Linked DNA regions of Homo sapiens: region 1 is linked to region 2. Evidence: promoter capture Hi-C in 16 types of primary human blood cells and fetal thymus (Javierre and others, 2016). All regions are on one chromosome and are shown on one strand. The core of a region is centred on a gene start or on the middle of the fragment in contact, and the rest is flanking DNA. Distances in the headings are between cores, read along the strand shown. Region 1 overlaps MANSC1 (MANSC domain containing 1). Region 2 holds the start of ETV6 (ETS variant transcription factor 6).

Evidence for each region. The method cuts DNA at HindIII sites, captures the fragments that hold promoters and counts their contacts. A CHiCAGO score of 5 or more calls a contact.
Region 1: a contact is called between a fragment that was not itself captured here and the fragment with the promoter of ETV6 in region 2, in 2 of 17 cell types (total CD4 T cells and total CD8 T cells). The highest score is 5.7, in total CD4 T cells.

The regions. Positions count from the first base shown.
Region 1 is chr12:12,325,248-12,327,947 of GRCh38, forward strand. MANSC1 (MANSC domain containing 1) reads right to left here. Exons shown (of 4, transcript NM_018050.4): 4 at 809-2,700. Among named protein-coding and RNA genes, the nearest start is that of MANSC1, 24 kb to the right of the region's middle. RefSeq lists an enhancer at 60-560. The HindIII fragment of the contact is 2,222 bases long and covers 264-2,485 here.
Region 2 is chr12:11,648,390-11,651,089 of GRCh38, forward strand. ETV6 (ETS variant transcription factor 6) reads left to right here and starts at 1,285. Exons shown (of 8, transcript NM_001987.5): 1 at 1,285-1,771. The coding sequence starts at 1,739. RefSeq lists an enhancer at 188-287 and silencers at 468-707, 998-1,207, 1,418-1,467, 1,478-1,637. The HindIII fragment of the contact is 9,207 bases long and covers 1-2,700 here.

The DNA of each region.
Region 1 (2,700 bases), core at 125-2,624, 680 kb after region 2:
GCTGAAATGGGCAGATTGCTTGAGTCCAGGGGTTTGAGACCAGCCTGGCCAACATGGCAAAACCCTGTATCTACAAAAATACAAAAATTAGCTGGGCGTGGTGGCACATGCCTGTAGTCCCAGCTACTTGGGGGGCTGAGGCAGGAGGATTACTTGAGCCCGAGAGTTGGAGGCTGCAGTAAGCTGTGTTTGCGCCACTACACTCCAGCCTGGGTGACAAAGCAAAATTGTCTCAAACAACAACAACAAAAACAACAACAAAAAGCTTTCTAGAACATTTCCAATCTAGTGCAAACCTCTTTTTGGTTACACCGTGTATCATTCCAGTTATAAGAATGTAAAAAGTGGCAACTCCGGAGCCAGGCTATCTGGGCAAGTGACCTCTGGAAAGGCCCTTAAACTTCGCTGTGTCTCAGTTTCCTTATCTACAGAATAAGGATTAAAATTATTCAAAAGGTTGTTGTGGAATTGAAATGAGTTAGTATATGTAAAAGTGAATCTGGCGCATAGTGTAAGTACTTTCTTTTGTGGAGTCTTGCTCTGTCGCTCAGGCTGGAGTGCAGGGGTGCAATCTTGGCTCACTACAAACTCTGCCCCCGCCACGCCCAGCTAATTTTTGTATTTTTAGTAGAGATGGGGTTTCGTCATGTTGGCCAGGCTGGTTTCGAACTCCTGACCTCAGGTGATCCACCCGCCTCGGCCTCCCAAAGTGCTGGGATTACAGGCGTGAGCCACTGTGCCCGGCCCATAGTGTAAGTACTTTCTAAGTGTTTGCTATCAATAAGTAATAAATCATAGAATACTCGACTGAAAGTGGTACAAATATTAGAGATTTATTATTACAGAACAAGATGGAAGTTGGCAGTTCCAGGGTTTGTCCTGTCAATTAACCAAGGCATCCCGGAGACTGGACTCTTCCTGTACCCACTGCCACGCTCAGTGTGGCAGTGCCTTCTCCCCTCATCATGGCAGGGAGGCCACCACAGCTCCAACAACCAAGTCTTCACATGGTCAGCATCCCAAGCATGAAATAAGGGGATGTGGTTAGAAAGGGCTTTTCTCCTTGTGCAGCCTTCCCTTTACAAGCAAGAAAATCTCTCCTAGAAGTCCCTAGTAGGTTTCCTTTCAGCTAAAACTTGGGTCACAGGCCCATCCCTGAACCTGGCACTTCCAACCTGTAACAAATGAGGCAGAAGTGGGACTAGGGCTGGCTGCTGGGCAGCTGACCGGTAGTGCCCACCACAGTCTGGGAGCCAAAGAGTTCCAAAAGTTCCTCACTCAGGCCAGGGGTAATTGAGAAACAGGCACATAACAGTATTCATCCAGGAGTCCTCAGGTTTTTTAAGAGTTTTTTAGTTTTTTTTTTGTTGTTGTTGTTTTGTTTTTTTTTTTGAGATGGGCTCTCGTTCTGTCGCCCAGGCTGGAGTGCAGTGGCGTGATCATGGCTCACTGCAGCCTCGACCTCCTGGGCTCAAGTGATCCTCCCACCTCAGTCTCCCAAAGGGCTGAGATTACAGATGTGAGCCACTATGTGCCTGGCTAAGAGTAGCTTATTTTTATTTTATTTTATTTTATTTTTTTGAGATAGAGTCTTGCTCTGTCGCCTAGGCTGGAGTGCAATGGAGCGATCTTGGCTCACTGCAACCGCCCCCTCCCGGCCTCAAGCAATTATCCTACCTCAGCCTCCCAAGTAGCTGGGATTACAGGTGTCTGCCACCATGCCTGGCTAATTTTTGTATTTCTGTAGAGATGGGGTTTCACCATGTTGGCCAGGCTGGTCTAGAACTCCTGACCTCAGGTGATCCACCCACCTTGGACTCCCAAAGTGCTGGGATTACAGGCGTGAGCCACCACGCCTGGCCAAGAGTAGCTTTTTAACCTAGGTCAGTATCGTGTTGGTAAAATACGGAGAGAGGATGTTTGAGCAGAAGGACCTACCTCATCTTCTCACCTGTTCTAGGCTGCTACCTTCTCTTTCTACAAACCAAAGGAGGGGGCTCATAACTCAATGGGCCTTGTGGGAAAGGCTAACCAGACTAGTCACTGCTGAATTCCTCTAAGGGATTCCCCTACCCTGACTGCCCTTGCCACAGTTGCACCCACCATCCTAGGGGCAGTAAGTAGAGAGAGCTGTGTGAGAAGAGCACTCTTTCCACTCCAGATGTCCCCTACAACCTATATCCTCACGGCCACTAACAGTTTGGGCCCGTAGCATCACTCATCTGGACCGCTCCCATGTGGTCTCCCCATCACAACAAAGACTGCAGCAAGGTGGACAGAGAACTCCAAGAGAGCCAGGAAAATACCTTTATAAACCATCACAGAAAGCCTGATTTCCACTCGCTAAATCCATTAATAAAGAGAGGAGAAATTTTAAAATTCCAAGGCACCTGGTTACTAATCTGATTCTGGCCTACATGTGGATATTCAATAAATACTTGTTAAGTTAAATTGACTCAAGGTTTTATTTATTCAGCCTACTTAAAGCTTATGTAAACCCCTTGGAGATTTGTGTCAAGCTGTTAAGTTGGAAAATATAAGAAAAGTAGTATTTTCAATAGACCAGCTTTCCTCTTAATGTACTTTATGAACTTAGTGTAAACCAGGGAAATGGGGGAGGGGTACCAGAAGAGCAGAGGGGAAGGAGGTGAGGAGGAAGGAAGAGGTGAGGAGGAAGGAGAAGAAAAGCCTTTTCTGTCA
Region 2 (2,700 bases), core at 35-2,534:
GTATATATGCGTATATACATATTTATACCATATTTAATATATTACTCTATTAAGAAATTATAACAAATTTCCTTTTACATTACACATCCACATATTAAACCCCCAATATGTGCTAACAAGGTTAGAATTTAAGTATAATGATAATGTTCTCAGTTTTTTGTGGTGGACACTTTAAGAGAGTGTAAATAATAATAAAAATAATAGAGTGATCAGATCACTTGTGCTCAGGGCTAGACCCTTCAGCCCCAACGGCCTTAACCCCCCTCAACTGCTTTTCCAACCAAATATTCCTCCCCCTGCAGGATCCCAGGGCCATCCAATCAACCGGCCAATGACGGTTTCAGAGAAGCGGTCCTGGGGAGGGGTATTATCTGCAGGAACACGTCCTGCCAACTTTGTAGTCGAGTCACCTATTTCGGTTGGTAGCGGCCGCTATTTCTTTAAAAGGGCAGTGGATTTCGAAACAGGAGGGGGAGGTCAGGAAAAGGAACTCAGCTGCCTTTGATAACTGCCCTGCAGCCTTCCCTTCCCGGAGCGCGTGCTCGGCTCGGGAAGCGCCCGCGGCCGCCGCATCCCCGAGCGGGCGCGTGGCGCCACCTCTTTCCGGGGCGCCCACCTTCCCCGGGAATCCCCCCGCCCGACGGTCCCCCAGCGTCTGCGGCGCGGCCGCCCCGGCTTTGTCTCCGGCGTCGCGCTCGGGCGCCCGCTCTCCCCACATTTCCCCGTGTGCAGGCTGTAACCCGATCTCCCATTTCCTGGTGGATTCTCTTAAAGAGGCAGCGGTCGAGAAGCAGAACAAAGGCTATTGTTTTATTTCCTCCTTCGGATTCCGCGTCCTAACCGGAATGGCCCTTCATAGATAATTACTTTCGTTGCATCTGCGCTTAGTGAAACGTTTCAAAACCCTTGTGCACATCGATGTATCCAAGAGACGGAGCCAGGGGAGGTGGGAGGAGTTTAATAAAACCTGTTTTGTGGTGTCTGGGGCCACAATGTAACGTTTTTTAAAGGTGTCTTCCTTAAGCCCGGAAATTGGCTCGGCCAGCGGGAGGTCTCGCGGCGTGGAGGGCGGGCGCCCGCACCGGGGGCCGGCCTGGGGGGCTGCGCCGCTCGCCCCGCTCGCAGCCGCGGCCCCACGCGGCCCCGCTACCCGGGTTTCCTCCGCCCGCGCCCCCGCGGCCGCCCCTCCCCCGCGCAGCTTTTATTTCCCCGATGCCGGGCTGTAACCCGAGCTTTTATTTCCTGGTGGCTCCTTTAAGAGGCAGAGCTCAGTGCTGGGAATTCACGTCAGTTTCTGCACTGAAACTCTCAAGATCAATGAGCAAAGAGCTTTCTCAGTTCTGCCTTTCAGTTTCTCTCTTCCAGGAAGGAAAACATTCGAGAGAGCGAGGGAGAGCCGCGGGAGGGCGGGGGGCGGGGGCGCCGGCTGCGGGTGGGAGGAGAGACCGGGAGGCCGGCCGGGCTGCGTCCCGGGTCCCCGCGCCGCGCCGCGACCTGCAGACCCCGCCGCCGCGCTCGGGCCCGTCTCCCACGCCCCCGCCGCCCCGCGCGCCCAACTCCGCCGGCCGCCCCGCCCCGCCCCGCGCGCTCCAGACCCCCGGGGCGGCTGCCGGGAGAGATGCTGGAAGAAACTTCTTAAATGACCGCGTCTGGCTGGCCGTGGAGCCTTTCTGGGTTGGGGAGAGGAAAGGAAAGTGGAAAAAACCTGAGAACTTCCTGATCTCTCTCGCTGTGAGACATGTCTGAGACTCCTGCTCAGTGTAGCATTAAGGTAAAAATCTTCTCCCCTCCTTCTACGTGGTGGAAACCCTGAGCTGCACCGGCCAGGGCAGTCGTGCTGGGCTCCTCAGAGCAGGCTGTTGCAGTTGCTCTGTTCGCAGGAAATTATTTGGGGCGAGAGGGAAAGAGATGCAGCTCGCGGTGGCTGCTGTACCCTTTAGCGTAACCTTGCTACTCCCCCCCACCGCCGAGCCCCTGCCGGCTCCTCGGCCCCCACCCCCTTGCTTTTTGACAATGAAATGCCGGTCACAATTGGTCAGAGCAACCCGGATTGTCTCCAGAACCGTAAAACACCCCCGTAATTAGTGCGCTTAAAAAAAAAAAAAACAAAAAACAAAAAAAAAAAACCTGCTCCCTATTCCTACACCCAACATGTGACTGAAATATAACTTTTGTTCCCGAGGGGTGGTCGTCTTAGAAAAAAAGTTGTTCAGTTTCCACTGCGATAGAATCTTTTTATTTTTTTAAAGGACTCTCTGGGTCTGATCAGACAGGATTTTTTTCCCCCTCGTCTGATTGTAATTGCAAGCGCTGTCGGAGAGACAGTCCTGGTGTCAGCTTTTCCTAGGCATTGCACAATGAATTTTTTTTTAAAACCAAGGTGAATAAAGTTGCTGAATAGTTATTTTACTCCGATCCATATGAAAGTTGAGCAATCCCAAAGTAGAAAACTCCTGTGATGGAGGGAGAGGAAGAACTAAGCAACCAGGCAAAATGACCTTCTGTGTTTGACAGTGCAGAGAGGCTATCTAAGCAGCACTCTGTAAATGCAGGGCGGTAGATGTTTGTAAACACACTGCTGGGCTACCCAGTAGTTGTGTGTATGCATGTCTATATATCTGTAAAGACTGTGGTGCTGCGGTTTGTTGCTTCTAAAAAGTTGTTGTAAAGTTTGCCACCATTGGGAGGCAGGATGATTTA